Linked DNA regions of Homo sapiens: regions 2, 3, 4, 5, 6 and 7 are each linked to region 1. The links are contacts of gene promoters, found by promoter capture Hi-C in blood cells and fetal thymus (Javierre and others, 2016). All regions are on one chromosome and are shown on one strand. Each heading gives the region's core, a stretch centred on a gene start or on the middle of the fragment in contact. The rest is flanking DNA. Distances are from core to core; before and after follow the strand shown.

Region 1 (3,316 bases), core at 267-2,766:
CTCGCTTTCATTCTAGCAACATCATTCATACAAACCTTTAGCGGGCACCTACAACTGCAAGGCATTGTGCTAGGTATCTGTAAACAGCGATTTAGATCGAGATACACAAACATCACCAAGTTTCTCTTAAAAACACAGAAGACCACCCTTAAGAAATGCTCTTAGAAATAGTTCCTAACCTCAGATGACTTAGCGAAAGCTCCGTTTAACTGGCAGTCTAAATTTAGGGAGCATTACCGAGCCTATCTTGGGCAGACAATCGTTTAGGAGCTGTCACATAACCTCTAGACTTACGCTCCAATTTTCTAAAGAACAATTTCTCTCATAACAAACCAAATCAACCACCAGGAGCGGGTCCGTAAAGACGATGTCTGGGCAAGAACGAAATCTAATCCCGGAAGTGCCTTTTCCTCATCTTAGCCGCACCCTCGTTACGTGGCTCTCCAAAACTCCAAAGTCGGAGTACCCTAGACATGGAACAACCTCCAAAAAGTTTCAGGCCTAGCCAAGGTTGGGACTAATACGCCGCGAAATAATCGGGGAGATATGAGAAGTCTGTGGCTGTGAGACTGTGCGCGGTTAACACCGCTGCCCCTTTTGCCCAACCCCTAGAAAGTTCCCCAACTCTGACTGCCCCCCAGTGCGAGGGCCGCTACCAGTTCTAGGGTGAGTCCGGCCTCCCTGCCCCGCCCCGGCGCCTCAGACCCTCTCTACACGCCCGCCCCACAACCCCGCGTCGCCCGCAAAGTTCAATGTGTACCGGAGGTTAGCGGAGGGAGGCAGAATCCGGAAAGAGAGACTCCGCCAGTGGATAGCGGCGGTTGGCCATAACCTACTCCGACCTCCAGATACGCGGGAGGTGGGCGGCGCTGCCCTCAGTCGGTGGGTCACTCACCCCTCGCTTCAGGCAAGCCCCTCAGCGACGTCTCTCCTTGCCGACTGCGGCCATCTTGTATATGGAATGTCGGGGACCTACGTCATCACGCTGCGTCCTGAGACGCCACCAAGCGACCGGAGGGGCGGAGAGAGTAGGATGCCTGTCAACCAATGGGAAGAAAGCAGAGCTCTCAAAAGAGGAACGAGCCGCCGCTCTCCTCCCCGCCCGCCCCGCGGGTCAGTGGCTGCTGCTTACAGAGGGAGGAGCCAGCCACAGGGCCCATCCCGTCGGTCCCGCCCCTCGGGGCGAAAAGGCATTCTGGAGCAACCGAACCTGCTAACGGAACTTGGGCGCGTAGGCGGGGCCCGGGTCGAGATTCGTCCAATCAAAGCTCTGGCGGGGGCGAACGCAGCCAGTTGCGACATCGTGGTTGGCGGCGGCTGAGCCGGCCGCTCTTGCCCCCGGGAGCTGCCAGCCCACTGGCTGGGGAGGACCCCGAACGGAACGCCGGCTGGGTGGCGGGGCGGGGCCGCGCCCATGCGTCCGAAGCGTGGGCCAATGAACGGCGGCGGCTGCGGCCCGGGGGCGGGGTCCGGGGCGGGAGGAGAAGCGTTGGGCCGCGGTCGCGGGGCCGTCTCAGGCTGCCGTCCCGCCCCTCCCGTCCGGCCGCCGCCGCCGCCACCGCCGCCACCGCCTGGGGGTTGGTTGAGGCGGACGGCGGGGTCCGGGCCGGAGTACGTCGTTCCCGCTGCGCTAGGGGAAGCGGGCAGGTGAGTGCTGGCGGCGGTCTCTGCGCCCGCGCGGCCCGCGGGGGAAACTCGCGCCGCGTCTCCGAGCTCTGCGAGGCCGTCCCTCGCCCTGGCCAGCGCCCCTCGGCCGAAGTCCGGCCCGCGCCCCCGCCAGGGTCCCCGCCGGCCGCTGTGGCCCCGGGGCTTGAAGGGGCAGGTGTGCGCTCGGGGGCCAGGGCGAGGAGGGCCCGGCGGGGTCGGAGGGCGCCGGTCGGCCTCTGCCCGGGCGCCCTGCGGGGCGAGAGGCGCGCGCTCGCCGCTGCCCTGTCCCCTCTGGCGCCCACGCTCCCGGGCCCCGCGCCACCCGGTCTCGAGGTGGTGCCAGGTGCAGGCAGCGCTCTCCCCGAGCTTGCCCCGCTGTCCCCGGCCCTCGCGCCTGCTCTCGGGTGGGGCCCGGGCCCCTCGCGCTAGTCGGCTCGGCTCTGCGCGCGGCCGGGTCGCGCTCCCATTTCCTTCCTTCCTCCCGTCACCCCGCTGCTCGGGGAAGGCTGTGCGGTTTTATGTTCCTCTCTGCGAGTTCTCGGTGCCCACCAGGGTGCCCGGGGACCAGCCCCCGCCTCCTCCCGCGCCGTCCAGTTAGGAAGACGGACGTAGGAAATAGGTCGTCTTTCTTCCCACGCGCCCCTGGCCGTGCTCCACACGCGCAGTGCCCTACTAGGGAGAGGCAATTCGGTGCTTTAGAGTTTGTCATTCCGGCGTTAACTCTTCCTCCTCGTGGCTCCAGCCCGGCGATGCAACTCTTGTCTTTTCCCGGTCTCCACTTGGGAAAAGGAGCTGACAGTGACGCGCGCCCCTGGCTGCGGGGCTCACCCCTGCCCGGCCGGTGTTGGGAGGAGGGCATTTCAGTGTTGCAAAGGCATTCGCGGGTTAGGACCACTCGGACCGTGTTATTTTGCTTTTCTAAATAAATAAGGTGATGTTTCAAAAGCAAAAATACTTTTAAAGTATGCTGACAAATCAATTTTGCTTTTAAGAATCCTCGAAGAGTTACCCCATCTTCGTAGCCTGATTGTGGTGCTGATGAGGCCACTATAAATGCGTTTGTCAGAACTCAGAACCGGACACTGAAAAGTGTGAATTTTATCTTATGTAAAATATACCTCTCCCTCTCCCGTTTTTCTTCTTGAAATGACCTTGCCAGTATTTCAAAACTGAACTAACCAGTAATAATCTCGGAGAAGTGTTTATTATTTTAAGCGAATACATTTAACCCAAGAATATAGCAAAATAAAGCAGTCTTCCTCTCCACTGTTAAAATTTGCCAAGACTTGCTTGAACCTTGCTGTATGTACTGTGTTTATACGGGCTACCATGCGTGAAAGTCCAGCAGTACTGGATTAGTCCCAAGGGCTGCCGTGATTGATACTTTGGTGAAATTCCAACAGTTTACCGAGGAGTTTTTCTTCGGCCTAAGAAAGTAGTTTGCAAAGCCAAGTTCTCAAACAGCTACAGAACCTCTTTATTGGGACCCCAGACAACCTTGGATTTTAGCCTTCTGCTACCCCTTTCCTGTCTGCCCTCCAAGTGATTGTAAGTTAATATCTGAAATGGAACTGTAGTCTGAAGGAGTAAAATGGTTGCTTCTCCAGTGTGCTAACATCTCAGTGCTTTTTTTTCCTGGAATTGGAGTGGTGTTGGATTTGAAGATTAG
Region 2 (3,316 bases), core at 392-2,891, 4.3 Mb after region 1:
TTTCAAGTGAAACCTTAAGCCAATTCATAGTAAATATATTATCAAAATTTTAGCACAGTAATGACTGAGCACACCAGCCTCAAAGCCAGACTACGTGGGTTCAAATCTCAGTTGTTCACTTACTGGCTACTTACTTGTTGGAAGTTATTCCATTTCTTCGTCTGTTAAAACAGGAAGCAGGCTGGGTACGGTGGCTCACGCCCGTAATCCCAGCACTTTGGGAGGCCAAGGCGGACGGATGACAAGGTCAGAAATCGAGACCATCATGGCCAACATGGTGAAACCCCGTCTCTTCTAAAAATACAAAAATTAGCTGGGTGTGGTGGCGTGCCCCTGTAATCCCAGCTACTCGGGAGGCTGAGGCAGGAGAATCACTTGAACCTGGGAGGCGGAGATTGCAGTAAGCCCAGGTCGCACCACTGCACTCCAGCCTGGAGACAGAGTGAGACTCCGTCTCAAAAGAAAAAAAAAAAAAAAACAGGAAGCAGTTTCAGCACCTACCTCACAATGTGCACACAGTTAAAGCACCTACCTCACAGGGTGCACACAGTTAAAGCACCTACCTCACAGGGTGCACCTAAGGATCACAGGCATGCAAGCCCTAGATCAGCCTGCCCAATGGCAATATAATGCAGGCCACAGGTGACATTTAAAATTCTGTAGAACCCACACTAAAAAATAAACAAATAAAACTTTTATCCCAATATATGGAAAAAGTTTATCACTTCAACATGTAACAATTTTTTGAACATTATTTGGTAAAGAATGCATATATCTCGATTCCGACTAGCCATACTTTAAGTGCTCAGGAGCCATGTGGGGCTGGTGGCCCCAAACTGAACAGCACAGCCCAGGCAGCAGGGGCGCATAGTAGGTTCTGCTCACGCCCATGGTCTGAAAGAAACACGGTTGCAGTTGCTGTGAGCACACCTCACCTGGAGCAAACCGGCCTATCAGGGGGTCCACTGAAGAGATGTCTACATTTGGGGATAAATTAAGAAGATGTTCTTTAAGCCAGCCACTTATTTAATTCCCACCGATATTTTAATTCCTAGCTTCAAGCTGTGGTGCGCGGTTCCGACCTATGCAAATGAACAGCTTACAAACAGAGGGCCACCATCTATTTCTCATTATCTGGGGATCCCGGTTGGGGTGGGGGGCGGAAGTGGGTGTTTGTTATTTCCCCAAATGCGGAGGCCCCTGCACCACTAACGCGAGGAAACGCAGGCGAGTGGGAAGGTACTTTAAAAAGGGGAGGGAGGTGCTCAGAGGGAAGCTAAGCTCTCCGGGAAACAATTACGGCCACGTTACGGTCTGTGGGTGCCAGAAGGAGCAACAATGGAGGCAGTCGAATTCCGAGAGCTCAGAGAGTCTGCCAAACTTAGCCGGCCTCGGCGCGCGGGTTCCCGGGGGCCCCAAAAACTCCGGGCAACTGCGGCCCAACGCCAAGGTCCAGTCCAGGCGCTGGGCCGCAAACGCCTCTCCGGCCTCCGCGCGCGCGCCCGCTGTCTCCCTGCTCCTGAGTGGCTGGGGGGCCGGGATTAACCTTTCACCGCCAGGCCCTGTCCAATCACAGGCTCGCTCTCATGCCGCCACGGGGCGAGCGGAGCGTGGGGGCGCGGAGGGGCGGTGCGGGAGCCAGTGGGATTCTCCAAGCGGCTGTGCGCCGTTGCCGCGGGCCGTGCGCTGGCTGCCGGCCAGCCGGGCGCTGCGCAGTCTCCGCAGGCGCCGGCGGGAGGGGTCGAGGCGGAGGCGCGGCGCAGGCTGCTGCAGGCCCAGGTGAATGGAGTAACCTGACAGCGGGGACGAGGCGACGGCGAGCGCGAGGAAATGGCGGCGGGGGCGGCGGCGCCGGGCGGCTCCGGGAGGCCTGGGCTGTGACGCGCGCGCCGGAGCGGGGTCCGATGGTTCTCGAAGGCCCGCGGCGCCCCGTGCTGCAGGTGAGGCGGGCTCCCGCGGAGCAGCTTTGTGTCCGGGGCGGGGAGCGGGTCGCCTGGCCGCGCTCCCGCCTCCGCGCGGAGGCCCGCGTGCCGGCCATGGCCCCGAGCCGCGCGTCCGGGCCTGGCGGGCGCTGACGAAGGGCGCGGCCTCGCCTGCCTCGTCGTCCCGCACAGCGCGGCCTGTGGACCCGGCGTCTGCCCGCCTCGGCTCTGCTCCTGGGCCCGGACCCCGGCGCCTCCCCGCGAGGCAGCCCTGGGAGACTTTCCGGGCCGCCGTGGCGTGGTGGGGGATGCCGGCGCCTGTCCACTCCCCGGCCTGGCGAGGCCTGGGGCTCTTGACAGGTCCCGTCACGCGCGCTAAGGTGGCGCGGGAGCAGCGGAGGTGGAGACGCGCGCCTGACCTGCCGGAGCACCCTGGGGCCCTCCTCTGATGGGGCCGCTGTGCCGCGCCCGGAGGGGACGAAGCTGGGCTCTCGGTCCCTCCCGGGAGGGTCCTGTGTGATTACTGTCAGGGGACCAGATTGGGGCCCTGGGGGGCGGGCAGGGGCCGAGGCCATTCTTTTGCCTCTCCCCTCAGATGTTTTTGTGCCAAAATGCCTAGACCCTGCGGAGGACCCTTTCTTCAGGGTTTTTGATTTTGGGGAAATCAGTGTATGTTTTAAGTTAGCACATCAGATTTCTGTAGATTGTCCAGAAAAGCTGAGTTGCCCTGATGGCTCTGCCTGGAGGTCAGAGCCAGCAAACCACTGAGTGTGTCCTTAGGAACCTGAAGATCCGCGGAAACGTGGAGATGAGTTGGAGGGTCCTATTTGTGTAGTGTTAACTCCGTGCTTTTGTGGAGAGAGTTGTGGTTAAAGGGACACGTTACTGGTCTACACGATAAGTAAGTGTTCTTAGGACTTTCAGGTTTTAAAAACATTCATCTGATGAAAGAGGATCACTTGGACGCCTATGCTTCTGTCTTCGAATATTCTGAATCTTTACAATCCTGATTGTCAGGTGTCTTCGTGGTGCTTGTTTTCAAACAGTGGAAAAGGACTCAGGTTAGGATTTAAGCAACTCGGAAAATATTGTTAAAAATGTGCTGTTAAAACAGGTTAGCTATATTGAATATGTATTGGTGTAAACGTTAAGTTTTCTAAATAAAAATATACATCCTCACCAAAAAACTCAGTTTATTAAAAGATGGGTTCGGGATAAGCCAGGTCCTAGAGAATAGTAATTTTCAATATTATTGATATCTTTGGAAATTAGGTTCTGGAATAGCCAGTTTATTTTGCAAAGTCTACTTTAAAGCTACCTGTGGCACGTGTGTATTATATGTAATATGTGCTGTGTACATGCACATACATACACAATTATTTCAAAACTTCATT
Region 3 (3,316 bases), core at 274-2,773, 4.0 Mb after region 1:
ACTCTGTCTCAGAAATAAACAAATAAATAGAAAACAGTTCATCTAGCAAAAAAGAAATTCACCCCAGTTTAATTGCAGGGAGGGGAGGGATGATTCAAGTTAGAAATGGGATGAGGCATTAATTATTCATTTTCCTTTGCTGGCAAAAAAAAATGGAGGATTTTAAATTTTTTTGTTCTCCTTTTACAGCCAGAAAAATCCTATTTGCTAATTCTAAACTTAATATTTTTTGAAAGGGTATCCTAGTGAGATATTGTTCATTGATATCAAATTTTAGTGAGCCACAGTTTCAAAGAGTTTTAATAAAAGACTATCAAAAGACTGGGTGTGGTGGCTCATGCCTGTAATCCCAGCACTTTGGGAGGCCGAGGCAGATGGATCACCTGAGGTCAGGAATTTGAGACCAGCCTGGCCAACATGGTGAAACCCCATCTCTACTAAAAATACAAAAAATTAGCCGGGCGTGGTGGCGGGTGCCTGTAATCCAAGCTACTGAGGAGGCTGAGGCCGGAGAATCACTTGAACCCAGGAGGCAGAGGTTGCAGTGAGCCAAGATCACGCCATTGCACTCCAGCCTGGGCAACAAGAGCAAAAGTTCATCTTAAAAAAAAAAAAAAAGACTATCATAAAACAATTACATTTTGTTTAAAAAAAAAGGAGTTTTTTTTGCATAAGCTTTATTACATAGGCAAAATTGGGTGACTTGAGGAGAAGCTGTTATATTGGCAAACCTTCTTCCCTCTCCAGATAGACGGTGATCTGGCATTTTCATATCATAGCTGTATGAGTGCAGCCTTGAGGGGACATGCCAGTCTAGTCGATGTGAAATCAATGGGATATTCCCGTTGGTTCATCTCTTCATACCATGCAGCCACAGATCCGTGATAATCCACACATACTATTGGCTGTCTAATTACAGAGCAAATAATATCCTCTTACTTGAAGGAATTTTTACTTGTGTTCAGAAAAATAACACATCTTTCAAAGTCATTCTGGTTTTGAGAAATACATTTTATAATAGAATGAGTCTCTGTCTTTCCTGGCAAGGCAGGTAGGGGGCACTAGTCTATTTTACTGAGGAAGCTGGGGCAAGAGCCAATAAGGGCTGCCCCTGTAATTATACATTCTCTGGGAATTAATCATTTTGCTCAATTCTAGGAAAAGTCTCTCAGTTCTTACCCAAGTGCTATTCTTATTTTAGGGAATAGCTAACTTACTTAGTTTTCTAATATAACCACAACAGATCAGAAGCAGTAAATTTTAAAAGGCTAACACTAAAAGCAGAAAGAAACAATGACTGAACAGTAAGTGAAAGGTGAAGCACTAAGAGGCAGACATTCTGGGATTCTTCTTAAAAAGCAGCATTCTGGGGCATTCGATGTAAGGAGGGGCGAACAGTCTTCACCCGTGACTGTTCCTTGTGCACTAGTGCCTTGTATTATGCTTCCGAGCAAGAAAAAGAAATTCTTTTCCCCATGCTCTGAATAGGAAGTCAAGGAAACATGCAGTTTATTTTAGCTTGCCAACAAAAACTACACACACACACACACACACACAGCTTAAGGTTATGTTAAAAAAAGGAATACTTTACTCCATTGTGCCAGATAAAGTTATTCTAACTCTGTTACATACTTCATGTTAGTACTTGGAAGACACCTTGGAAATACCTAGTACATTTCATCAGGTGTTGAGGGACTGAATAATACTGGTGTAAAGTTGAATTTTTCTAACTGTGTAAACCAGTGGGCTTGATAAGAGAGCTCAGCCGACGTTACGTCAGAAAGGGCCGTCCATAAAGTGGTTCTGCAAATGCTGATGTCAACCCAGGACACACAATTAGAGGCCTCAAAGAATATAACCACCTCACTTGTGCTACTACCCAGCCCTGTTTCACAGTGGTTGGGGATCAGAACCTCTTCAGGGAGTGTATGCATTGTAATTGTATCTGTTTATTCCTCCCCCCACCCCCACCACGCACACACTAGGCCATCAACTTCTAGTTGGGTAGGATTCATTTTTGTAACCTGGTGCCCTAGTGCCATCCCTGGCACTTACTATATGTTCAATAGATAATTCTTGAATAAAGAATACATAACCTGGTGAACAATACAGAGCAGGATCTCAGCAAATCCCAAATTGTGTGAAACTCATAATATCGAGCACAGGTGCCATAGGAGGTGGAGAAACATTCAGTGAGGCACCCACAGGCTCTGCGCTAAGCAGGATACAGAGTGGAGTAAGAGGCTGCCAAATCCCAAGGACCTCGCAGTCCTGTGATGGGGACAGATGCAAGAATGCCCCCGAGAACTGGAGAAGGGAATGGAGCTCTCGGAAAAAGCTCAGTCAGCGCCTAAGGGATAGGAAAAGCTTAGTAGGGGGTGACACTTGAACTGAGTTTTGAGAGAAGGGTAAAGTGCTTCTATATAAAAAGGAGGGACATTCCAGGAAGAGGGAGCAACCAGGGCAAAGGCACAGAGGCCCCTGGGTCCACTGGGAGAATGCCAGGCCGTTTCTTGAGAAATGCAGGACTGGACATAGCTGAGGGGAGGACAGATGGTAAGGGACTGGGCTCTCCTCCTCTGGATGAGGGAGAGTCCCAGGAGGAGTGTAAGCTGCAGAGTGCTTGAGAGATCACCCTTGCGGGAGTGTTGATGGATTGGAGGTGGCCGAGCTAACGGGGCCACTTAGGAGAGGGTCATCAGATTTAACCTTTGCAGGTATTGGGGTGGGGGCATGGGGGAAGGGCACTGCTGCAAGCTGAGTTCTTTGAAGGTAGGGATGACAGCATTTGGTGACTGGCTGACTGTGGGGAGGGGGCTGGGAGGAAGAGGGGAAGATTCAGGCTTATTCCTAGGGTTTTGCTTAGCCACTGACTGCACTTGATGATGCAGGGAATACAGCGGGAGGGGGAAGGAGGATTGGAAAGGTAAGTTCAGGAATTACTTTTGGACATTTCTGTTTCCAGGTGCCTGAGGAACATCTAAATCATCAGGTTATGTCTGAAATAAAGGGAGAGAGTATGCAGATTATTGCCTCTACGGGTCTGGATCTATTGATAAAGGAGATTTGGGCGGGTGGGGGGGCAAGAAGGAGTGCAGAGAAGAAAACCTGGGGAACGCATATCGCTGGGGAGGGACAGGCCATGAGGAGAACTAGGAGCAAGTGCTTTAGGGAAGAGGAATTTACCAGAAGCCACAGAGGGCCTGAGCATGAGGGCTCACACCTGTAGTCCCAGAGCTTTGGGAGGCCGAGGCAGGAGGATTGCTTGAGGCCACATGCTCTAGACTAGTCTGGGCAACATAGTGAGGCCCCATCT
Region 4 (3,316 bases), core at 474-2,973, 3.9 Mb after region 1:
TAATGAGGTACAGTAGAACCCAGTGTCACAATCCTTGCTACTGCTAAATTAGAATTAGCTCAAGGTTAAACTGCATTCTTTGAAGCATAACTCAACACAATAACTGTCTAACATATCGGTTCAGAAAAGACTCTCCACTTTGGTATGAAATAGAAGCAGTATTTTTAAAAATAAAACTCGGTGGCAGTAAGTCAAACTATAATCGTAGGAAAGATACTTTACAGGGAATTCTTTCTGGCTGAAGGCCCTGCCGTCCCCTAGGGCTGCTGGGCAGTCCACTGATAGATCATCACAAGGATTAGATCTGTCCTTTGCCTTCAACAATGAGTCTCTATGTTCCAGGGGCAACCAAACATGAACGATGTTGTGTTCATCAGCCTGTCCTTCTCTGCTCCCTTAAACCCTCCGAACGGTGGTGGATACCACAGCGCGGTACCAAGTCCAGGTGTAATCCAACATTAACTGTCAAGGTCAACTTACAGTGAGAGCTCATTATGAGCCATGGTCTCGACAGGGTGCTGTCATCTAAGCTTGTAACACGCCTGAGGTCGGTGGCATCTGCTATTTGCCCACTTAAGCAGGAAGGGAGGTTACTAAGTCGTCTGAGGTCAGTAGCACACCCAGCAAGTGCTGGGATGCAAACCCAGGGAGGGTGACTTGAGTCCCGGCTCTTAGCTACTGCGGTGTTGCGAGGCTGTAACCTGTAATAGCCTAACATTTCTTGTGACTAATCCAAAAGGAATGAAGAAAGGAAATTCTTCACTCTTTTCTAAATGTATTTTTTGGGGCACTCTGTATGCTGGCCAGAGGGGATCTGAATAAAGCCAAGTAACAGGCAGTTAGGTCCTGGAGTGATGAACAAAGAACAGGGCTGTAGAGTGGATTAAAGGGTCTGTTCCGTCTGGGGTCAGGGAAGGCTTTCTGGGATAGGAGAGACTTCACTGTGACACAACCGGGTGCCCCGGGAGGTTCACAAGGAGGAGAATAACATGGCTATTCTGACTGAATCCAGGATAGGGATCTTTGAGGTGAGGTGCACCTTCAGTGGCATCTCTGCCCTAAGGGAGACTCTGCCCTCAGCTCACCTGCACTGGGCTCCCAGGGCAACCGCCAAGAAAACAATGCTCCCCTCACGCAAAATGCCCACATAGCTTTCAGACCTAAAGTGATGCTACTCTCAGGAAATAAGACAGGAATGTGGCTTTACAAGAGTCCACCTGGTCACCCCATGCGTCTCTGTAAGCCCCTGGACCTTAAAATGGCTTTTCTCTTCACCATTCCTCTGCTCTGCTTCATAGTAGCTATTATATGGTTCTTAGGCACAATTTAAAGCTGCTTTTTAGATTTACTAAACAATTCTTAAGTGGAATGTTAAATTTTTAAAACAATCAGTGTTTTGTGTGGCCATCCCCTAATATATATCTTTTCCTGTCGGTGGCTCTCAGGAACCCACATGAAAGCTTTCTCACCTCACATTTAAATTTGTTTCTGCTGGGCGCAGTGGCTCATGCCTGTAATCTTAACACTTTGGGAGGCCAGAGTGGGAGGATCGCTTGAGCCAGGAGTTCAAGACCAGCTTGGGCAACACAGAGACCCTGTCTCTAAAAAATAAAAAAATTAGCCAGGTGTTGTGGTGCACATCTGAAGTCTCAGCTATTCAGGAGGCTGAGTGGGAAGGATTGCTTAAGCCCAGGAGGTCAAGGCTGCAGTGAGCCATAATCAGGCCACTGCACGCCAGCATGGGCAACAGAGCAAGACCCTTTTTCAATCAATCAATCAATCAATCAATCAATCAATCTGCACCAATGAAACCTTGCCGACACAAGTCATTCCTCTACCCTTAGCACAGTCCCTCCTGTCACAAACAAGGGACCTGATTTCTCAAAATATAATTTATGTCAAAATATCTAAGTAAACCTAACAAATGTAACAAGAATTCTCTCTTAAGCTGGCTGCTATGGCTTGAAAAGTTAAAGGAAAGCTTCGGTTCCCAGATTCTACACAAGTGAATTAAACACTGCCAACAAAACGAAACCCAACTTAAAAGTTATCTTCTGTCCTAAGATATCTCTAAAACTCATAGCTTAATGAAGCAGAATGCCATTTATGTAACTACCAATCCATGAAAAAAATAAAAACTACCTGAAATCATAAAATGTTTAATCTTCTAAAATAACTTGATTTCTAAGGGTCTAATCACACAGACCCTGAAGCTATGACAAATATCCAATATAATCACACTAATACAGGCCTAATGTATTTTAAATAGGTGCATTTAAACCCGAGAAGCAGTCCTTGCATTTTAAATAGGTGCGTGATACTGCTGTTTGCACAAGGAACCTCTGTGTCTCTGCTCTAATTCTCACAGTGAATTCTAATTATGCAGACCATCAAAATTATTCAGACTTACACTAGATAGCATCTTCAATTTTCTACTTGGTAGAGATTTGTTAGGCATATAGAAAAAAATTATTAATTAACTCTGAGAAAGAAGACTTACATTCCTCGTAGAGCCCAGTGATTCCTTCAACTTATAAGTTCCCTAGTGACTTTGATATGATCTCACTATGACTCATAAGCATGAGTCAAATTATTCACTTGGCAGCCTTTTCCTAGCTCCAATCATATTCTAGAGAGGTTTCTTACATTGATGCTTCCCATCAATAAGTTTCTCATCATTTCGCTTTTCAGATGAAACCTAAGGGCACACAGGCAGATTCAAGGAAAAGCCAAAAGAAGCAAAATTGTGAAAACGTATCACACTCCTCACTAGATGTGATGGCAAGGGACAATTTTGCAGACCCGGCCTCTGGTCCACGGCCTGTATCCATCCAGAGGCAGTATGAAGTGACTTATTCATGGTGACTCTGTCTACAGGGCAAGGTAGATCCTTCTAGTGCTCCTGCTTCCCTCATTTCTAAACCAAATGGCTCAAATGGATGTGTTTTAACCTCCTCTTAGATCCTAAGGTCCCTTAGCTTACAGAAGACATAAAGGTATCATGGGATGTAGCAGACAATTAATGTAATAACCTTTTTCTGAGAATAATCTATTTTTCTTTTCTCTAACACGGTGAGGTGGGTGACTGCTGAGGAGCAGTGCTCTAATCTGATGGGGCAGTCCCCAGGGTGGGGGCGTGGGGCTACAGCTTTCCTTCCCCTTCCAAAACCTCTGGGGAAGGGGAGCAGGGGCAACTCCATCAGTTCTAGCCTGACCTCATGGAGGAAGTCTGTTTTTAGAGTATTCTCGAGAGGAACTCAAGGAGATTAAATAAGCAACGAAGAACAAGCCTCTAGAATAGCTCTGGGGAAAAGAG
Region 5 (3,316 bases), core at 392-2,891, 3.1 Mb after region 1:
TGGAGTGCAGTGGCGCGATTTCGGCTCACGGTAACTTCCGCCTCCCGGGTTCAAGTGATTCTCCTACCTCAGCCTCCCGAGTAGCTGGGATTAAAGGCGTGGGCCACCATGCCTGGCTAATTCTTGTACTTTTAGTAGAGACAGGGTTTCACCATGTTGGCCAGGCTGGTCTCAAACTCCTGACCTCAGGCAATCTGCCTGCCTCAGCCTCCCAAAGTGCTGAGATTACAGGCTTGAGCCACTGCGCCTGGCCAATTTTTGTATTTTTTGTAGAGACGAGTTTCACCATGTCTCCCAGGATGGTCTCAAATTCCTGGACTCAAGCAATCCTTCTGCCTCAGTCTCCAAAATTGCTGGGACTACTGGCATGAGCCACTGTACCCAGCAAACATAAAAACTTTTACTGGAAATAAATTTCTTAATGATAGAGGTTGGTTGTGATCCCCTCCTCCCTAATTTGTTAGTGCATCCATAGGTGAATATACTTATAGCTGGAATTCAGCAGGGCTCGGCACACATTTTATTCTAAATTAAAATGTAGATACAAGCTTGAGAAATACTGATGTTATAAATCAGTAGATGAGAATTGAGAGATTTTGCAGGAGCAACATCACTGAGTTCTTTGAATTTCTGAGTGTCATGCCAAAAAAAGTATAAGATGGGAAAAGATAGAAAATGTACTGCTGGCCCTGTCTGGAGGTTTTTATACCTTAGACAGTACATAAGGGAGAATTTCTGAAGAGAGGAAGAATATGGCTATTTTGGCTAAATGGGAGAAGGAAGATTGTACAAGGAACTATGGGACAGGAGACCCAGCATGATGCCACCACTGTCTGTAGTCTTCTCAGTCCATTTTAGGAAAGAATATGTTTGGATGCTTATACCTTAAAACCATCCATGCCCATGTACTACTGGGAAAGTCTTTAGGATTATGCAAATGTCAGCATGAAGAAAGCCTTTTAAAGTAGTGATCTCCAAAAATAAAACGAGCCGATCAAGTCTCACTATTCAACACTAGGGTACAGACAAAGAATTATACTACCCTATGCAATATAGCATGCAGGAAGCACTTTACATATAAGCTGGCGTTTAATAAATATGTTATTTTAATTTGAAAAGTAAATTGTCTTTTAAAAATCGCATTTACGTTCTTTCTGTCTGTCTCCTGTTGTAGTCTGGTTTGCTCCACCATGCCACTGAAATTGCAGTTAATGGGATCACTAGTACTTTAAATATTACTGATTTCAGTAGACATTTAAAAATCTTTGACTTCTTGTTAGCTTTTGTTGAGCTTGACCACTCTTCTCTGTCATGTTGTTCTTCCATGATTTTCTGGGACATGAACCTCTTTCAATTTTCCTTCTATGTCTCTGTTTGCTTTTTTCTAGTTTCTTCTGCAGGCTCCTCTTTCATAACCCTTTTCTTAAATATTGGTGTCTATGAGTTCTGTCTTAAGCCACCTCTCATTTTACACTGTATAAGTTCCCAAACATTTCTCTCCTCGTGCTGTGGCTTCAGTTACCCATTTGTTTATTATTTTATTATTTTTTTGAGACAGGGTCTTACTAAGTTGCTCAGACTGGAGTATAGGGGCACAGTCTTGGCTCACTATAACCTCTGCCTCCCGGGCTTAAGCATTCCTCCCACCTCGGCTTCTCAAGTAGCTGGGATTACGGGTATGTGCCACTACACCTGGTTAATTTTTGAATTTCTTGTAGAGTCAGGGTTTTGATGTGTTGCCCAGGCTGGTCTCAAACTGCTCAGCTCAAGATCCTCCCGCCTTGGCTTCCCAGTGTTGGAGTTAAAGGCGTGAGTCACCATACCTGACCTACCCTCTGTGTTTGTAATGTTAATCTGTATCTCCCACCCAGATGGCTCTCCTGAGCTCTAGCTGGAGGAAGCTCCAGCTTCCTCCTTAGCACCTCTACCTAGATGTCTCCTTAAATGTGTACTTTGGAAGTGAACTTCTCATCTTCCCTCTAACCTGCTTCCCTGTGTTTCTGTATCTCAGTAAATGACACCTCTATCTAAGCAATTGCCCAAGCCAGCCTCCTAAGTGTCATTCATAATTCTTTCTTTCTTTTACCCCTCATGATGCCAATTAATCATTCTACTTCCTAAATATGTTACAAAAATTTATCCACTTGTGACTGTCCTCAGTGTTGCTATCTGTGCCAAACCAGCCTCTCTAGCTTCTATTACTCATAACAGCCTTCCTGCTGGCATCTTCCCTTCATGCTGTACATGGCAACTGAAGGGGCCCACTCAAAGTTTGAATCTCATCATGGCGTCCTTGCTTAAAGCCCTTCAGTGGCTTCACATCACCCTTAAGATAAATTTCAGACGCTTTAACATGCATTACAAGGCTCTTTGGATCCTACTCCTCTTTATCTACATAGCCTTGTCTCTGGGTCTTCGCCCTGGCACACTGAAGCCTAAAGCAACTTTTCTTTTTCAAATACTGCGATGTATCAAATATGCCTGCATGTATTTCTTTGACTTCTGCTTTCTTTGAATCCTTCCACATGCTTTGTTTTTGCCTGGACCATTTTGCCTGATTAACTCCTTCTGGTCTTCTGGTCCCAGCTTAAAATAGCACTCCTTCAAGTGGGCTGCCTTGAATCTGCAGGTTAGGTTCTATTATGTGTTCAAATAGCACAGTGTGTTTCCTCTGTATATAATCATCACACTTTAATTACTTGTCTCTTTCATGGTATACTATCTTGTAAGCTTAGTGAGGACCGAGATCATCTTTATCTTGGTCTCTGCTTTCTTTTTAATTTTTAACTTTTAATTTTTGTGGGTACATAGTAGGTATATATATTAATGGGGTACGTGAGATATTTGACACAGGCATACAATGCCTAATAATTACATCAGGGTAAAAGGGGTATGCATCACCTCAAGCATTTATCCTTTGTGTTACATATAATTCAGTTGTGCTCTTTTAGATATTTAAAAATGTACAATAAATTATTGACTGTAGCCACCTTGTTGTACTATTAATTACTAGATCTTACTCATTTTTTTTTTTTTTTGAGATGGAGTCCCCTGTCGCCCAGGCTGGAGTGCAGTGGCTCACTGCAGCCTCCGCCTCCTGGGTCCAAGTGATTCTTTTGTTTCAGCCTCCCAAGCAGCTGGGATTACAGGCACGTCCTACCACGCCTGGCTAATTTTTGTAATTTTAGTAGAGACGGGATTTCACCATGTTGGCCAGGCTGGTCTCGAACTGCTGACCTCGAGAGATCTGCCCGTCTCAGCCTCCCAAAGTGCCGGGATTATAGGTGTGAGCCACCATGCCTGGCCCTTGGGCTTA
Region 6 (3,316 bases), core at 510-3,009, 3.1 Mb before region 1:
GGCAGAGGTTGCGGTGAGCCCAGATCACGCCATTGCACTCCAGCGTGGGCAACAAGAGTGAAACTCCGTATTAAAAAAAAAAAAAATGTTGTATCATTTCTATTCCAAAATGGAAGCCTTCCTTCCCCTTAAGCTTTTAAGTTAAATGAAAAGACACATAAAAAACCACTAGGAAATAGTAAAGTCTCAATTTTCTGCCATATCTAGAAAACTGTGTCCCCCTGCTTAGGTTGGCAAAACAAGGTTTGAAATTACTTTACACCAGTTAGATTCCTTTCCAGATTAAAACAAACACAAAATAAAGAAATTTGGGGCCGGGCGCGGTGGCACATGCCTGTAATCCCAGCACTATGAGAGGCCGAGACGGGCGGATCACGAGGTCAGGAGATCAAGACCATCCTGGCTGACACGGTGAAACCCCGTCTCCACTAAAAATACAAAAAATTAGCCAGGAGTGTTGGTGGGCGCCTGTAGTCCCTGCTACTCTGGAGGCTGAGGCAGGAGAATGGCGTGAACCTGGGAGGCGGAGCTTGCAGTGAGCTGAGATCACACCACTGCGCACTCCAGCCTGAGGGACAGAGCAAGACTCCGTCTCAAAAAAAAAAAAAAGAAATTTGGAAATTTTAATATCAATACTCAACCAATTGGCAGCAAGACTATGCAGCAAAACAGTTAGATGTTTTCCTTTTTATTTCTGAGACAGGGTCTCACTCTGTCACCCAGGCTGGAGTGCAATGGCCAGATCACTGCTCACTGCAGCCTTGACTTCCCAGAGATCCTCCAGCCTCAGACCCCCCCGTAGCTGAAACTACAGGCACATGCCACCATGCCCAGCTAATTTTTTTATTTTTTGTTGAGACAGAGTCTGACTACATTGCCCAGGCTGGTCTCCAACTCCTGAGCTCCAGAGATCCTCCAGCCTTGGCCTCCCCAAGTGTTGGGACTACAGGTGTGAGCTACTGCAATCTGATAAATGTTTTCCATTTTAGAATAGCTGGTCACTAGCAAGTTTATGCTCATATCTATTCCAACAAAAAGCCCAAAGACAGTTCAAAATATTATATTTGCTGTTTCAAAGAAAAGTATAACTCCAAAGAAGTCAAACTCATTACTAACAATGCAGAGCTGATGTCAATATTTCGATGAATGTCAGAAATCTAATTCCTGTTGTTGACAAATATGCCCTTTTCCTTAGTCACATCCAACACATCTACATAAAGTTTTCAAAATTTATGTTAACAAAAATGTATCAAAAAGCCTACCAACTTACTCAAAGATTTGTGGAAGTCGATTTTTAAAAATAATACATTAGGAAAATTTGGTAACAAGCTTTATGTTCTGTGTTTTAAAGCAAAGATAGACTTGACCTACAAAATGAAGACAGGGTCAACTGTAACCAAAAAACAGTATGCTTCCCCTGGTGGCCAACCAAGGAACGGAGGAGCCAAGCATACAAGAGATATAGCCTGGCCACCTAGTTCTATCCTGTCACTCATAAACGAGAAGTGACTACCAAAAAAAAAAAAAAGAATTGGGGAGAAGAGGAAACTATCAAAAACACTAACATGGACTTAAAAGAAACACAAACGCGAGTATTAGACAAATAAATTTAACAGATTTACGTCAACAAATCAAAATTTAGAAGGCCAATTTAGGAAGTCATTTATTTCCAGAGTGTCCAAGAGCTCACCTAGGACCTCTATGTATTTTCACTTCAAAGTGCAGTTTAGTACCTTAATAACAGCTTGAGAGCAATCGCCTTTTTCAAGGACTAGATCATTGCAATTTTCTGCAGTCTTGTTTCCAAGGAAAAAACATGTATGCGTTTATCTTTTCAAATAAACTAGTGGTATAACCCACATACAGAACCCCAGCTCTAAAGCCCTCCAACCATGGAGGATTGTTAACTCCAGCTTTACAAGATGCTCTTTTGAATTTTATTTCTGAAATAAATCCTACGTTCTTTCAAACATTTTCCATACCAACAACCTTTAAAGACAGTCTCATACAGACACTGGCTAGAATCTCATGCATTAAAATCTGACGAATTCCTTTGTCTGATCGGATTTTTTTTCTTGTACCACTTTAAATTTGCTTCTACACAGAATAGCAGCCAGGGAACTAAGTGTTCCATTCTAGGGTGTAGGGCTTTCTTGTAGGTGAAAAGCATTTGTTAGGCTAAAGCTTCTGATGCTTCTCAATTTCACAATCTCTTCCTCCAAAAAAAAGGAAATACACACATTTACAAATAGGTCCTAAAATCCAACTGCCACACGCGAGACTCTCTTCCCCAGGCAGGCGCCCTCTGGAAAACACACTTCTTTTATTGACTGGTTTTGGGGGGTCGTTCTTCTACTCGCCTTCTGGATGGGAGGGCAGTCAGGAGCCAGCAAGAGCCCAGAGGCTGAGAGGAGGAGCAAAGGCGTGGGGAGCAGCCTTTGGGAAGGGTTCCGAGAAAGGGGTCTCTGGGGACCTCCTAAGTCCGGGGCGCTCGCAGGACACTAACTCTCCGGCACTGCCACCCTTACCCCTGGCCGAGGCGCAGCTCACCTGGACGCAGGGACCCCCAGCGCCCCCAGGCCAGGTGTGGCCACCTCCGACGCCACCCGCAGTCCTCGGAGGCGCAAGGGGGCAGCGGCGCCGGCCCTGCTGGGGGCGACCTGGCCTCCCCCGGGTGCAGAGGCACGTTTGCAGAACACTCGTGTGCGTGTGCGCCTCCTCGTCCTCGCCCTGCTGTTCTCCCCACGGACGGCAGGGCGAACGCACAAAAAGAAAGTTGTCGGCGGGCTCCCGCCCCCTCGGGCTCGCCGGGGACCCGGGGCTCCCGCTCATCCCCGCCGCCGGCCGGCCGGGGCCGCTACTCACCGGGGTCGAAGTCGGGCACCACCGCCTGGTACTGGGGTCCGACCCTCATGCCACCGCCACCTGCGGGGGAAGCAGAATACGGCGGTCAGCGCGGCGCGGGGCGCGGGGCCCGGGGCCGCGGGGGCGGCTGCCACCTACCGTGCTCCTCGTCGCTGGACGAGCCCGAGCTGCCTTCCTCCCAGGAGTTGCTGCTGCTGTTGCCATTGGGCGCCGCCGCCGCCAAACTTTTATTCTGGCCATTATTGGGGGCGGCGGCGGCTGAGGCGGCGGCGGCCGAGGCTGAGGAGGCGGCGGCGCCCGAGGCGGCAGTGGCGGCTGGCGAGGCGCAGGCGGCCGAGGCGGCGGCGGAGGCGGCGGCGGCGGAGGCGGAGGCGGCCGCGTTGTTCCTCCCTCTCCGCTTCCCTGAGACCTCGGGGCCCTTCTCCACCATGGCCGGCATCGGCGGGGGCCG
Region 7 (3,316 bases), core at 311-2,810, 3.1 Mb after region 1:
TTTGAATTGTTTATTGATATGTCTTCAAGTTTGTTAGTCTTTTCTTCAGTATCTATTCTATTTGTGTCTTTTAATCTTTTAAACATATTTTCCATGTCTTTGCTTAATTTGCTCAATCTTTTTTCTAGCTTTTTGAACATATAAAATACAGCCATAATAAGTGTTATAATGTCCTGCCTACTAATTTCAAGTATTATTTCTGGGTTACTCTCAACGGACAGATTTTTCTTCTCAATTGTAGGTTATATTCTGCTGCTCTGCATGCCTGGTCTTTTCTGACTGGATGCCAGACATTGTGAATGTGGTGCTGAATGTTTTTATATTATTTTAAATATTATTGAATTCATTTGGTTAGACGCATGGTGAGAAAAAATTTAAAAAGTAATAAATATTGTTGAGCATTGTCCTGGGAGGTAGTTATCTGGAAACAGCTTGATCTTTCTGGGTCTTGCTTTTAGACAAGATCTGCGTTTAATCTCTAGTTAATTCTGTCCCATTACAGAGGCAAAACCTTTCTGAGTACTCTACCCAATGCCCTATGAATTACGAGGGTTTCTATTCTGTGTGATAAGAATGGGAATTATCCCTAGTCCTGCTTTAGCTCAGAAAACTGTTTCCTGTAATTCTTTTTTTTTTTTAATGGAAGAACAGAAATGATTATTAAACACATGAAAATACACTCACAGTTAGAAATTATAGAAATAATTAAAATGAGGTAACATTTAACATCTTGCAGATCAGTAAGACATTTTCCTTTTTGAGTCTATGCATAAAAAATTTTCTAAATCAAGTATTATTGAGGATGCAGAACACAGAACATTTAGACACTGAGTGGGAGTGTAAACTGGCACAACACTTTGGAAAATGATTTGATATTATCCAATAAAGATGAAGATCCAGCAACTTAGTCTCCAAAGAAATGAGGAGATGTATAATTTTCATATCACCTCTGCTTCAGAAAGTCCCAAACTGAGTATCCTCCTTTCTTTTTTTTTTTTTTTTTTTTTTTGAGACAGAGTCTCGCTCTGTCACCCAGGCTGGAGTATAGTGGTGCTATCTCAGTTCACTGCAATCCGGGCCTTCTGGGTTCATGCCATTCTCCTGCCTCAGCCTCCTGAGTAGCTGGGATTACAAGTGGCCACCACCGTGCCTGGCTAATCTTTGTATTTTTAGTATAGACGGGGTTTCATCATGTTGGTTAGGCTGGTCTCAAACTCTTGACCTCAAGTGATCCACCCACCTCAGCCTCCCAAGTGTTGGGATTACAGGCGTGAGCCACAGCACCTGGCCCCTCCTCTCATTCTTTTTGGTAGTTCTTTCCCCAGCCTAGGGCAGTGAACTCATGAATTAGTATTCAGCTACAGGCTGGAGGGAGACCCTTCCTATATCCTCACAGTCCTTGCTTTCTGTGAAGCTATTTACTTTCTAGTACTCTGTCCTAGCTGCCTTGGCCTTCTTGGGTTTCCAGCTCTATGTCCTCAATTCAGGGAGACCATCAGGCTTTACCTGGATTTTTCTTTCCAGTGCCATGCCTGGCTCTAGGCAATACAATAGGGCAACAGGCTCACCATATTTGTATGATGCTTCTCAGGGATCACCTATACTACTCTGAACCAACTTTTACCATCTTGTTGTTTGTTTCATTAATGAATTAAATGCATTTTGACACATGCTCACCATATGTTTTATGAGATCCATGTTTTTAACTTAAAAAATTTTATTTTAACACGACTTTGAAGACTTTTAGTCCTCTAAAATTCAGCTCAGACAAACCTATTTCAGGATTGTGTATCTGCTCTCAAGATGGCCAATCACTGTATCTTCCTGAACAGCATCTCTGCTTTGGTACTGCTGTACTTAAGCCTCATGGCAAATAATTTTTGTGTCTGTACTACTACAGACCCATGAAGATGGGAGCCTGTGATATACACATCACCAGCACAGTGTCTGGCATAAAGCAGGACTTCATTGAATATTTCCTGAATGAATAAAACAGAGAAAATTCTAACTCTCTGCTTCTCAGGTGTGATACTCGGCTCTGTGACAAGGAGTATACAAAGACTCAGGACAAACATGGCAGATATTCTTGGAAAATACATATCACTGTTACTATATCAATATCAGGAAATATTACAGAACTGCCTAGAATTTTAATGAAAAAGTACACAAATGTTTGGATGTCTCAAGCCACATCCTCTTTAGATTATACCCCTACGCGTCTAGGGTTTCCTTTGCCTCTAAAAGGTACATTCGAGTGAGGAATATTGGCATGAAAAATACGTTTTAGAAGTATAGCCCTAACCCAAGGACTTAATTCAACAAGATGAAAATTTCAGGCACCGTGTCTGGCAGTATAAAGTTAACAAGCAGAGGCAGGAGCTGGTAAAAGGATACAAGGTTAGGGCTGAGTTAGGCCTTCTCTAAGTTTTTGCAACTCTTTCCACTTCAGTTATGCTATTGCTCTTTGTTAAAAATTAATTGTTGATAGTTTTGGCTGGGTGTGGTGGCCCACACCTGTAATCCCAACACTTTGGGAGGCTGAGGCAGGTGGATCACTCAAGGTCAGGAGTTTGTGACCAGTCTGGCCAACATGGCGAAACCCCATCTCTACTAAAAATAGAAAAAAATTAGCCAGGTGTGGTGGCACGTGCCTATAATCCCAGCTACTGGGGAGGCTGAGGCGGGAGAATCTCTTGAACCCGAGAGGCAGAGGCTGCAGTGAGCTGAGATTGCACCAGTGTACTCCAGCCTGGGTGACAGAGTGAGACTCTGTCTCAAAAAAAAAAAAAAAAAAAAGATTGTTGATAGCTTTAATTTTTTAATATTCTAATTTTCCTATGGTGAAAAGAAAATGATTATGTTTTCAATAAGAAAAAACAATTTAAAAATTGCAGTCTTTTGGAAAGTATAGGGTGTAGGAAGCAGAAATCTTTTTCTTAGAGAAGTCAGGTTATTATTCAGACACTTAAAATAACTGGTAGCATCAGTTACAAATAAAACAAGAGTTCTGAATTTATCTGCATTTCCAACAACTGTTTTGAAAGTAAAGATGAATAAAGTTTATTAATTATTATCAGCAAGATTTAGAATTTAGGCAAAGCTAAAACTCAATTTAACCTTTGTTTTCTGTAACACATAACATTTAATCTGTTTTCAATAGCTTACAGATGTATTTGTTTTGAAATAAAACATTTTAATTCAGAATCATGTGTAGTATCACAAATATAAAGTATTTGTAATTCAAGTAAGAATGGCTATTTTCCCATTTATACTCTGGTTTATAAAATTATTCTGCACCCCATTTTCAGCAATAACA

What was found. Contacts are between HindIII fragments. The CHiCAGO score rates a contact against its expected background, and 5 or more counts as called.
Region 2: a contact is called between the fragment with the promoter of DICER1 here and the fragment with the promoter of SETD3 in region 1, in 1 of 17 cell types (erythroblasts). The highest score is 5.1, in erythroblasts.
Region 3: a contact is called between a fragment that was not itself captured here and the fragment with the promoter of SETD3 in region 1, in 2 of 17 cell types (neutrophils and monocytes). The highest score is 7.7, in neutrophils.
Region 4: a contact is called between a fragment that was not itself captured here and the fragment with the promoter of SETD3 in region 1, in 1 of 17 cell types (erythroblasts). The highest score is 6.2, in erythroblasts.
Region 5: a contact is called between a fragment that was not itself captured here and the fragment with the promoter of SETD3 in region 1, in 4 of 17 cell types (activated CD4 T cells, neutrophils, total CD4 T cells and 1 more). The highest score is 5.9, in activated CD4 T cells.
Region 6: a fragment that was not itself captured here is called in contact with the fragment with the promoter of SETD3 in region 1 in 1 of 17 cell types (non-activated CD4 T cells); the score reaches 5.4 in non-activated CD4 T cells.
Region 7: a fragment that was not itself captured here is called in contact with the fragment with the promoter of SETD3 in region 1 in 3 of 17 cell types (neutrophils, monocytes and non-activated CD4 T cells); the score reaches 14.5 in neutrophils.

Annotation. Positions count from the first base shown.
Region 1 is chr14:99,479,059-99,482,374 of GRCh38, reverse strand. It overlaps SETD3 (SET domain containing 3, actin N3(tau)-histidine methyltransferase), which reads left to right and starts at 1,516. Exons shown (of 13, transcript NM_032233.3): 1 at 1,516-1,647. CCNK (cyclin K) reads right to left here and starts at 966. Exons shown (of 11, transcript NM_001099402.2): 1 at 896-966. RefSeq lists enhancers at 706-1,075, 1,884-2,385 and silencers at 1,266-1,725, 1,836-2,035. The HindIII fragment of the contact is 7,554 bases long and covers 1-3,316 here.
Region 2 is chr14:95,155,854-95,159,169 of GRCh38, reverse strand. It overlaps DICER1 (dicer 1, ribonuclease III), which reads left to right and starts at 1,641. Exons shown (of 27, transcript NM_177438.3): 1 at 1,641-1,940. It overlaps DICER1-AS1 (DICER1 antisense RNA 1), which reads right to left and starts at 1,482. Exons shown (of 4, transcript NR_015415.1): 1 at 1,312-1,482; 2 at 936-977; 3 at 135-294. RefSeq lists enhancers at 1,171-1,240, 1,281-1,380 and silencers at 1,471-1,930, 1,991-2,350. The HindIII fragment of the contact is 7,422 bases long and covers 1-3,316 here.
Region 3 is chr14:95,525,322-95,528,637 of GRCh38, reverse strand. No RefSeq gene overlaps it. Among named protein-coding and RNA genes, the nearest start is that of SNHG10, 7.9 kb to the left of the region's middle. The HindIII fragment of the contact is 1,692 bases long and covers 678-2,369 here.
Region 4 is chr14:95,545,241-95,548,556 of GRCh38, reverse strand. No RefSeq gene overlaps it. Among named protein-coding and RNA genes, the nearest start is that of GLRX5, 12 kb to the right of the region's middle. RefSeq lists an enhancer at 1-774 and a cis regulatory region at 2,448-2,738. The HindIII fragment of the contact is 521 bases long and covers 1,463-1,983 here.
Region 5 is chr14:96,348,391-96,351,706 of GRCh38, reverse strand. The region is part of intron 1 of ATG2B (autophagy related 2B); the gene reads left to right. Among named protein-coding and RNA genes, the nearest start is that of ATG2B, 13 kb to the left of the region's middle. The HindIII fragment of the contact is 2,182 bases long and covers 551-2,732 here.
Region 6 is chr14:102,592,875-102,596,190 of GRCh38, reverse strand. RCOR1 (REST corepressor 1) reads right to left here. Exons shown (of 12, transcript NM_015156.4): 1 at 3,004-3,316; 2 at 2,866-2,925. The coding sequence starts at 3,304. Among named protein-coding and RNA genes, the nearest start is that of RCOR1, 1.9 kb to the right of the region's middle. RefSeq lists silencers at 2,566-3,175, 3,236-3,316. The HindIII fragment of the contact is 855 bases long and covers 1,332-2,186 here.
Region 7 is chr14:96,370,923-96,374,238 of GRCh38, reverse strand. All of the region lies in intron 1 of GSKIP (GSK3B interacting protein), which reads right to left. Among named protein-coding and RNA genes, the nearest start is that of GSKIP, 9.1 kb to the right of the region's middle. The HindIII fragment of the contact is 4,904 bases long and covers 1-3,316 here.